Regions from separate parts of the Homo sapiens genome. Here region 1 is linked to region 2. Evidence: promoter capture Hi-C in 16 types of primary human blood cells and fetal thymus (Javierre and others, 2016). All regions are on one chromosome and are shown on one strand. Each heading gives the region's core, a stretch centred on a gene start or on the middle of the fragment in contact. The rest is flanking DNA. Distances are from core to core; before and after follow the strand shown.

The links. The method cuts DNA at HindIII sites, captures the fragments that hold promoters and counts their contacts. A CHiCAGO score of 5 or more calls a contact.
Region 1: a fragment that was not itself captured here is called in contact with the fragment with the promoter of DCTN4 in region 2 in 3 of 17 cell types (erythroblasts, M0 macrophages and naive CD4 T cells); the score reaches 5.8 in erythroblasts.

Annotation. Positions count from the first base shown.
Region 1 is chr5:150,553,892-150,559,439 of GRCh38, reverse strand. It overlaps NDST1 (N-deacetylase and N-sulfotransferase 1), which reads right to left. Exons shown (of 15, transcript NM_001543.5): 15 at 1,229-5,548. Among named protein-coding and RNA genes, the nearest start is that of NDST1, 49 kb to the right of the region's middle. RefSeq lists an enhancer at 2,163-2,332. The HindIII fragment of the contact is 2,371 bases long and covers 399-2,769 here.
Region 2 is chr5:150,757,582-150,762,868 of GRCh38, reverse strand. DCTN4 (dynactin subunit 4) reads left to right here and starts at 3,852. Exons shown (of 13, transcript NM_016221.4): 1 at 3,852-4,010. The coding sequence starts at 3,876. RefSeq lists enhancers at 3,777-4,076, 4,507-4,576. The HindIII fragment of the contact is 18,997 bases long and covers 1-4,739 here.

The DNA.
Region 1 (5,548 bases), core at 335-2,834, 200 kb after region 2:
CTCTGGATCTGCTCTTGTCCATGCAGCCTCCAGCTGTGTTCTTGCTGGTGAGGGCCACCTGACCCAAACCAAGCTCCCAGCTGACGAACTGCAAAGAGGGCTCTGCAGGTGCTGCCCTTGTGCCATCAGAGGTGGCACTGTGGTATTTCACTTTGAACATACTGGGTCCTGGGAAGCAGGACTGCCCAGCTGTGTCCCCAGCATGCCCCTCCTCTGTCCCTCAGAAGCTGTGCACATTTCTGGGTACCGTCTCTGACAAACATGGTGGCCTGATTCAGTGTTCCCAAACTTCCCTGAACACCAAGGAGTCTGTTAAAGTACACAGTGCTGGGTCCCACCCCAGAGGTTCTGAGTGAGCAGATTTTGGGGGAGCCCAGGAATGTATATTGTTTAAAGCTTCCCAAGGGGATTCTGAAGGAGCATGTCTGATCACCTGCATTGCAGACACTGGCCTGGGCCCCTACCTGTGAACTCTCCTTCTCCAGGCAAATCTCGAGTCTGGCCCTCAATTAGGCTGTGAGGGCTTCAGTCATTTGTTTTACCCTAAGTTTTCCTGGACAGTGGGGCTCTCCGTATTAATTAGAACCCATAGGAACCATGGATCTGAGTCAGAGTTTCCCACTCTGAGCCAGAGTTACACTGGGCTGCCTCAGTGTACTGGAGGGCTCCTTATAAATTCCTCAGTGTACTGGAGGGCTCCTTAAAGATGTTGGGCCCCACCCCACATCTGCTGGAGCTGAATCTCTGGAAGTAGACCTGGGAATCTGCATGTTTTAGGCAAGTTCTTCAAGTGAGGCCATGGAGTCCAACTCCCTCCATGCGTCTAAAAGGTGAGGGAAATGGGATAAAACAGTAAAAGTGGCTTGCCCCCAGCTACAATATACATTAGTAGCAGAAATTGTTCCAGCCCCCAAGTCTCCTCTCGGTCCAGTGCCCGACACCCAGGGCTTCTGAGCAATCCAGCTTGTCTGAGGGCTTCTATCACCTGAGATGCCCCCTGTGGCTGCCCTAGGATAGGCCTCTGCTGTATCTGGGAAATCTTCCATTTATAACCCAGTGAAAATGATCTGCGTTGACCAAGTCACCATGTGTATAGGTGTGTGCATACATGTGGGCACGTGTGCATGCCTGAGGTGGCAGGGACAAGCGGGCTTTGGCCGTGCATGCAAACACCCCTACTCCACCCTTCCCTGCGGGCCTTGCAAAAAGGTCAGACAGGACCAAGGTGTACAAACAGAACCCCACTTTATTAGCAGTTAGTTCGAGATTGTACATTAATGGAGGAAGGTCTCACCTTTAACACAACCCAAAACGGCTGGTTCGAGAGCCCTCATCAGGCGAACTGGATAGCACCCCCTCTCCCCACTCTCCCCACCCCCCTACAAGGGAAGGAAACCTCTGCCTGCTTCCCCAGTGTGCCCCCCACCCTCTCCAGTCGGCCCTCTCCTCTCCCAGGAAATGACATGAATTTCATGCACAAATTACAAAAGGAGCCCTCTTGCTAATAATAAAAGCTAACACAGTCATAGAAAACCCTCTCCTCCCTCATTCTCCTCCAGGGCCGGAAACAGTAAGAGCAGGAGGGATGAACTTCTTAGGATAAAACGCATCCAGTTTCCCCCAGGTTCCTGGCATTGACCCCACAAAACCCTATGCCAGTCCCTTAGGGAAGCTGAAAACTCGCCAGCCGTCTGAGCTGGCAAGGGCAGCCAGCCCACAGCTGTCAAGCCAGGAACCCAGTGTTGCCTCAACGGCCTGGGCAGCAGGGGGTCTAGGCCGCCCCCTCATCCTCACATCAACTAGAGCAGAGGCTGCCTCCTTTGATGTGTGAAAATCCCTGCTGTGGCCCCTATCTGCTCATTCTACAGATGAAGAAACTGAGGGCCTGGGAGGAAGATGGTCAGGCAGCTACTAAATGCACCCGGCTGGGATGAAACTTCACAGCTCCTGCTGCCAGCCAGGGCTCTTCTCACACCACAGCTTGCGGGAGGCAGTTCCCCATGTAGGCTTTTCCCTGCTGCAACTGAGAGCCTGGCTCTGCTCCAGTGCACACAGACCACGGGTCTCCAGGAAATGAAAACCCTGGGACCCCAAAATAGAAAGAGAGAGACATATGATGTGTTTGGTGCCCTGTGGCCCATCCCCAGGGTCGAAGGCCCAGCCTTCAGGCATGCAGCCTCCTCCTTCCAGAGCCCTGTGTCCTTCCTTCCAAGGCCCAGATATTACGGCCTTCTCCAGGGAGACTTTCCGGCCCCCCCAGAGCTCTTGCTCTAACTGGCCCCTCTGCTGTTTTGGCACTTGGTACAGGTGACAGTGGAGGCGCATCTTAGGCAGAAGTGAAGCTGTCAAGTCAGCACAAAAGGCAAAATCTCATGTAGCCTAAATTATCCTTGAAAGTACAGGGGATAGAAGAAGTGGTTATGCGACACCATGAGCAAACAATCTGACAAATTCAGAATGTGGGGCTTCAAAAAGACAGCAGGCCTAGGGCCTCAAAAACAATGTCATTTAAAAACTCAAAGTGAGCTGAGGGAAGACCTTTCAGCATTCAAAGAGGTTTTAAAAACATAGTTAGAAAATGCAATGTGTGCACCGTGACTGGATGCTGATTCCAAAACCAGACACATAAGTTACCTGGGAGACAATTGGGGGGATTTGAATACAGATTAGATAGCAGACATCGCTGGGAAATGACTTCTCGTCTTGGCTGTGATACTGGGCCAATGTGTAGGACAATGCCCTAACTCTTAGGAGATGCAGGCTGAAGCTTTCAGGGATCAAGTTTCATGATGTTTGCAATGTACTTTTAAATTAGGACAGAGAAAACATATACATACACAGAGAGAGAAAAAGAATGTGGCAAAATGTTAATAATTTTAGATCTAGATGCTGGGGAGTGGGCATTCATAATTAAATGTTTGGTAAAACATTGTTGTATTTGCTTTTCCCACTAACAAGCCCATGGGCACAGCTCTGTGCTGGGACCACCAACCTCTGCAGGTCAGCGCAGCAGCTCTCCTCTGCTGGGAACAGATGGCTTCCTTAGCTGGGCCCAGAAGCACTGACTGCTCATCAGGGGGGCTCAGAAAAGGCCCATTTTTAAACTTCAGACTCATCCTCCAAGCAGCAGGATGCTCCACCACAGAAGGCTCTGGAACTCTGAATGACTGAGGCAGCTGCAGGTGACACTCGCACCTGCACCCACCCTGGGGCAAAGGCTCATGGAGGGGACCACAGAATAGACGATGGAGCCACCTGAACAATTTCAGTTATTTCTCTCTCCTTTTTTTGGCCAAATGCTTAGAGTGAATTAGTGGACATTGAAGACTGGCCTCGCTGGCCCACTCATCTGTGGCTTCTCTTCTCGGGAGGGGGTGTCCTTGTACCCATTAGCTAACAGCCCCCCAGGCAGCTTATCTGCCTCTCCTTCTACCCCCCATACCTGCAAGTCCCGGCAGTGTCTGGACCTAGTGGGTCTTCAAGAAAGGTCTGTTAGTGGGAGGAGAAGTGGCAGCAGTGACCTAGGCAGACAGACTTGGAACATGTGGCAGGTCCAGTCTCCAGGCTTGCAGAAGGGTCCAGGCAAAAATCCAGAAGATCTCTGCTGTCACAGGATTTCCAACCGCCTGCTCCTTCCCATAGCCAGAGGCAGAGAGAAGTGGAGCTCCTGCCCTAGGCCAGCCCACCTCTCCTGCCTTCCATGCTCTGCGAGAGAGGCCTCCAGGCCTAGAGGGTAGATTTCCGAACCTGGGAGCTGTAAGATCCTCACCCATCCCGCAGCCCAGTCCCCTCACTGACGGATGGGACTCTGGAAGTCACTGCCCCTCTCTATAAGCCCCTGGCTCCATGGCGTGGGCATGTCTTCATGAGCACACAAGCAGACATGCCACCCTGTCCTCAGACCCTTTGCTGCTCATCCTGCTGGCCCAACGATGCCCAAGTTCCCAGGCTTGCAGGCCCCATTGAGAGGCATGATGGGGACACTGCTGTGTACACAGTGAAACCACCTGCAGCTGGTCCCACTGAGTGTCCAACTTTCTTCATCCCAGCAGAGAACTGGAGAAAAGGGAATCAGCTCAGAACAGACCCAGGCCCCCACAGGCTGGGGAAGGACCCCTCGAGGGAGAACACGACAGGGATGCAAACGCAGACCTCGGAATGAGAAGGCTCAAAGGCACCCTGGCTGGGAAGGAGTGGTTTGTCCCCATATCCTGGAATGACCATGCTGTGACGGAGGAAGGGACAGGAACCTGGCACAGAGTAGGGTCCCAAGGATGGGCTCAGAGGCAGTGTGGCATTGGAAGAGGAGCACGATGGGACTTGGAACCGGGAGCCTCGGGTTCAACGCTCAGCCCTGCTCCCAGCTGGCTCCATGACGTCGGCCAAGCAGGCCACCTCCCCTTTCTGGACCTGTTTCATACCCGTCAAAGGACCTTCCAGCCCCAAGATGCTAGAGTCTTCTGAACAAGACAAGCCTCTCCAGAAAGTATTTCCTGGGGTTCAGAGGGAAGCAGAATTTGGCAGTTGGAGGGGGCCAGGGAGAGGCACCCCAGCCTCAGTCACTTCACATTGTTAAATGGGGTGGGGTAGGAGCAGACCCCAACCAGAAATCAGCCCAGAGATCCCACTGTCTACAAGGGCCTGGAGACAGTTCTGTGGGCCTTGGTGGGCATCCCAGCTCTCAGGGCAGCTCCCAGCCTAGCACCATGTGAGGGAGAGTGGGTGGGGCAGCTTTTGACCCCAGCTCTCCTAGCCCAGCCCTGGCTGTTTCCTTTGGCCAAAATCCCCTCAGGGTCACTGGACTTCACGCAGCCCGATGTCCTGGAGAGAGCTGGTCTTCCCTGCGCATCTCACCACCTCTGTTCACCTGGGGTAGCCCCAGAGCAGCCACGGCACTGGGGAGGGCCCCTTCCTAAGGTCTGCTCAGCCCCAGGCCACTGAGGACACAGCCTCCCTCCCTGCCACCTCATCTCTAGCTCTAAGACAGGGTGACCCCTGAGACTGGGGCTTACCACCATTTTGTAGGACTGAATTAAAAACGAACCCAACCAAAAAAAATAGAATATATATATATACACATTATATATATATATATATATATATAACACAGTGCGACCCCAGCACCCAGGGTATAAACTCTGGCACCAAGAAAAAAAAAAACAAAATATTAAAATATTTTAGCTTCTTAGTATTTGGGAGGTTAAGGGGGTCTCTGAGAGCCCTCGGCCACAGGTGGCTAAGCAAAGCCGTGGCTGGCAGTCTCACCAGCTCGCCCATGTCTGCCTGGGCCTGAGGCTGGGAGGGTGTGGGGACCGTGTCTGTACATGGGAACATGTTACTGGCAGACCCCTGGCCTGCCTCAGTCTTTTACCACAGGAAACACCACACATCATATCCCAGGGGGAAGAAAGGGGTGCAGGTGGGGCCCGGAGAACTGGGCCCGATGGCAAGGCAGTGCCCCAAGGCCCTGCGGGAAGCCTTGAGGATGGAGTGGATACTGTAGGAACCAGAAATTCTTCCCCAGAACGGGAGGGTGAGATGTGAAGGT
Region 2 (5,287 bases), core at 2,603-5,102:
CACTCCCTAACAATGACACAGGTCTTGCTGCTCCTCACATACGCCTTAGAGACCTTGTTTAGCTCCTTCTGGAAGGCTCTTTCCCCAGATATCCACTGGGCTCTCGCTCTACCTCCTTCAAATCTTTGCTCAAACCTTACCTTTTCAGGAGGGTTACCCTGACCACACAATCCAGAATTGCAATCCTCCCCTCTCCCCCTATTTCTTGTTCTGCCTTCTAAAAGAAGCAACTGCTTAAAGGTGAAAAAGAAAAAAAAAATTTTTTTAGTTGCCAGCTTCCATATGGCAGCAAGTTCCAGATGGTTTAAAATAGTGTTCATCCACTCGACAAATACTAACCGAGGGCTTGCTCTGTGCCAGGCACTGAGTTAGGCAGGAATTCAGTCTTTAATTCCACTTTGCTCAATTCAGTGAGCAATACACTGGTGCTCTCCTAGAAGCAAGCCTCGGGGTTGGGTGGTGAATTGTGCAAGAGGGAGGGTGAGAAACAGTCTCTGTTTGGCCAAATTTTAGTCAGGCTTCTGAATCTTCTGTAGGCCCATCTGTGCACTTCTCATAAAAAGTGGTTTTAGTGGGCCAGGCGTGGTGGCTCATGCCTATAATCCCAGCACTTTGCGGGGCTGAGGAGGGCAGATCATGAGGTCAGGAGATCCAGACCATCTTGGCTAACACGGTGAAAACCCATCTCTACTAAAAATACAAAAAAATTAGCCGGCCGTGGTGGCGGGCACCTGTAGTCCCAGCTACTTGGGAGGCTGAGGCAGGAGAATGGCATGAACCCAGGAGGCGGAGCTTGCAGTGAGCTGAGATTGTGCCACTGCACTCCAGCCTGGGCGATAGAGTGAGACTCCGTCTCAAAAAAAAAAAAAAAAAGGAAAGAAAAATTCAAAGTTCAGTTCAATTCAAAAGCAAAAACAATTCAAAAGATTTCCCAGAATAAAGGCAGGCCAGCAGTCTTTTGCCATGTTTACACTTGGGAAATTAGCTTTAGCCCTGCCACCACCACATTTCCTGGGCAGTAAGGGCCCCCACAGGGGCTAGCATGGATATTGATGAAACAGGGACTTCTTTTTTCTTCCTCCTCTATTCACTTACTATGACTTTTAGATTAGCCTGTAAATAGATTCAACACAGGAAACCCTATAATTAATATAGTTTTCAAGTAGGAAAGCAAAAGTGGGGAAGGCAGCCAGGGCAGGTGGCCAGCATTGGTGAGAGCAGTTCCCCAGATTCCTAAGCTGTAGAAAACCCTAAGTCTTTGAGGTCAGAGCCCAGATTCGGTCCCCTTCACAAGACCTCATTTGACCAAAGTCTGACTAACTTCCAGTTTTTTCCATTATTATTGTGGATTTACTCTGAAGGACTCTTTATAAAAATGAAAACCACTTTGGGTTTTTCATACTTGGGATATTTAGGGAGCATTTCTTCCATGTGCTTAGTACTTCATACCTTACAAAATGCTTTCACAGCCTGGATGATTTTTTATTTTCACCAAGGCAGGGATTATTCTTCTCATTCTATGTGTCTTGAAACAAGACTCTGAGGTGTAAATGTCTTTTTCAAGATCACATAGCTAGAAAGTGCCAAAAGTATCCACTCAAATTTGATAATATGCCAGGTGGGCAAAACAGTGGGAAATGGATAGCTCATACACTTATAGTGAGAGTGTAAATTGGCCTAGAATTTCACAAGGGCTTATTGCCAGTATTTATTAAATGTGGATATCCTTTGATCTGCCAGTTCAACTTTAGGGTCTCTGTATTAGCCTGAGTTCCCCCTAGAAAGCAGAGCTCAAAATGAGATTCTGCAGGCAGGAAGCCAGGATTGAGAAGTGAATGAGGGTGAGTCCAGGGCTGGGTAGAGTGAAAAAGCAACACAAGGCTACATTATCAAGCTGGTCACCATTGTGCATAACTAGGACTCGATCCTGCTAGAACCCTGAGCCTTTGAGGATGGAAAGTATCTCATTTATCGCTAGTTCCCTCCCCAGTACCTGGCATGTAGCAGGGACAAGATAATTGGCCACTTAATTATTTAAAATCAGTGCTCTAAAAAGTGTCTGTTTTATGTGGATTCAGCTCAAGTCTCCAGCCTTTCTGTACCTGCAGGCTCTGGGACTTCATTTTAACAGCATAGTCCAGAAAAGGGAATTTAAACTCAGTAGAGACTAGTTTATAAACCAGAAAACCAACGAATTCATTAACCTAAAGAAATAATTGCAAATGAGTTGGCTAGTAATATATTCTCTCCTAGGAGCAGATGTCACCTATGAAACTAAATTAGTGCCAGGCTATTGCTTGGTGAACAAGTAATGACTTTTAGGCTCAATTGGTAAAGCGTGACATAAATTGTGAGATTAGCACTGTATAAGCTGAAAAGGTCTATATAAATGTAAGGTATTATTAACATCACCATATTAGAAAATATGCTGGAGGGAGTATACATAGGGGTTATACCTGCAAGCACTAGAGTCAGAGAGAAAAGGGTTCTACCTCCATCTATGAAACCTTATAGAGGAGTCACTGCACTTCCCTGTGCCTCAGTTTCCTGCTCTGTAAAATAGAAATAATGATAGCCACATGCTTTTTGGAGCTGTTGTAAGAATTAAATTAGACAATGTATGTAAAGTTTTGACACAGTGTGCTGCACTTAATAAGTGCTCAATAAATGTTTGCTAATAGTATTCAGTTCCCTTTCTTCTCAATCACCAACTCTAACGTCAGACAGGTAATAATACAACACTACTACAATTATAAAAATGTAGACCTGGTGGCAGGCAACAGAGGCTCCAGTTTCTGCTAGGCAGTTCTAGGTGGTCATTTTACATACTGGGGAGTCCCAGTTAGAGAAAGGGAGTCAGGCTAGTGGGACCAAGGGATAGCAAGAAGAGCAGATGCACTCTAAGTCTGCCTTTCTTCATGGTGCAGGACACGTAGCCCTCCTGTGCAAATAACTCACAATCTTCCTGCACTCAGCTATCACGAGACACATGCAAGTTAGCTCCCTGTAACCTTGGAGTTCTCGGTACTGCACAGCACTCTGCAGCCCAAGAACCATCGGATAAAATCTCCAGCAAGCCTTTGTTTCCTTGAAGTCAGCTCCTCTCTGGCTGGTCTGCCCATTGCAACCTTTCAACGTATTTTCATACCTTCTCTAATAAATCTGCATTTCTTTACCTAAAACTGTTGATAAATTATTTTCCCACCCATGTAATACCAGTCTCACGTAGTCGCTGCTCACCCAAGAGGCAGACCTGAGCCTTAGTTTACACATTAGAAAAACGTAGACGCCTACCAACATTGTTCATTCATTGATTTCATTCCCTCCTTTTCATACTTATTGAAGGTCCACAATACAGACTTAGACCTAACGCTAACTATGTACTCAAAAACCTGCGTTTCAAATGAGATAATGTATGTGAAAGTTCCCAAAGGCCATTGGCAAGACTCAGAAGACAGTGCTGGTGTGACTCCTGTCTTGCAGTCCCCACGGAGCCCTGTCCCTTTGAGACCTTCCATTTGTCTCCTGGATGCTCGCCTGTTAAGTGGGGCAGAGGAGGCCGTCGTAAATAAGACAAAAGATCAGGCTTCCATTCTGGAAGAAAAGAATAAAAGGAGCTCACTGAGTCCAGACCTAATGGCAGTAAGGGCAGTGGACGCTCACAAAAGCGCTGGGGGACGGGCCCAGAGTTGGGGAGAAAACAGGGATCCCAGCTGCGCACGCGCGCTCTGGTTTTCGACGGGCGCAGAGCCGGACGAGGTGGGAAACCTAACGTCAAAGTCTACGTAGGAAGTCGTAGGGAAGGCAGCGAGGAAGACGCTGGCTCTCGGGTCACGTGATGCGCCGGGAGCGTCATCGCCTCCTCCCTCCCCAAGATGGCGTCCTTGCTGCAGTCGGACCGGGTTCTCTATCTAGTCCAGGGAGAAAAGAAGGTTCGGGCCCCGCTCTCGCAACTCTACTTCTGCCGCTATTGTAGCGAACTGCGGTCGCTGGAATGTGTGTCTCACGAGGTAACAGAGTCGCCCTATAGCGAGTATGTGGGGTGGGGGGGGCGCGGCGTTCATGCTAGTCACTGCCACCGGAAGGCTGGAGCTATTTTCCTTCCTTACTGATTGGTTATGTCTTCCGTCACTCGGGTTTGCCTGCGATTTAATTTGCTTCTAATCTGTCACTTGGAAAGGAGGAGCAGCCTCGGGTGGGACTGAGCGGATCTTCTGGTTCTAGAGCGGCCTCTGATTGGACAAACTTGACTTAGGGACCGTGTCTGTCTGCGATGGGGCTTGGTAATTGGGTGGACTACGGAGAAAGGTCTGGGGGTGCTTAGTTCAGGCCACTTAAGGGGCGAAAAACTGCCTTTCCAGGATTTATTGCGAGGATGGAGGGAGGCGCAGGCGTTCTCATTCATAGTTCTCCCATCCTGAAAGTTCTGTTCCTCTTTTGTCCAGAAACTGGGCCCTCGTCAGACTGCCTTGCCCTGTTCCTGACTCAGGCCAAGGCCTGCAGCCGGGAAGAGGTTGGGGCGGCGTGAGTTATGTGAAAAGCGCTCAGAATACAGTATGTCATGTAAGAAGCTGAAAGTGTATTTATGGAGCTAGAGGACAATGCTGTCCTTCCCTGGCACAAGTGGGCGTCCGAAGTTGGATTTTTCAAAAAGAAGACCCCGGCCAGTAAAAAGTCACCAAATAACAAAACCCCAAAACTTCTGCAGCGCTTGGCACATCTTGTTTATTCAGTAAGCTTTAGGGATTAAAAGGCGAGTAAGACATAAAATGCGCTGTTTAATAAGCCATAGTCTTAGTGAAGAAAAAGCTGATAGTAGTAATAGTTGCTGCTTATTCGATACTTGCTATATGTCATGTGCTTTATGTAATCTTCAAACCAATTTAAGTGGATACTTTTTTTAAAAAATTTTTTTTACAGGTAAAGAAACAGATACAGAGTGTTCGCTGTAAGTCACACAGCCAGTAATTTGGGGGTGGGAAGGAGGACCTGGATTTGAATCTAAACAGCCTAACTCAGAGTGTTTTTTACTGAAGATCCCGGGACTGTTAAAATAAATGCATATGAAAACACATACTATAAGCCATTTTATGTGTTATTAATAACTTATTTTATTGAAGATACTTTTCATAATAGGAATAGTCAAGAAAAGCAATTAAATAATACAAGAAAAATCGTATATATTAAAAATATGGCATCGATTTTTCTTCTCATCTCCATTAGCACTTTCCTTATGTGTATCTCCTTGATGATTCCCTATTCCAGCTCCACCTCCAGAATTTATTGG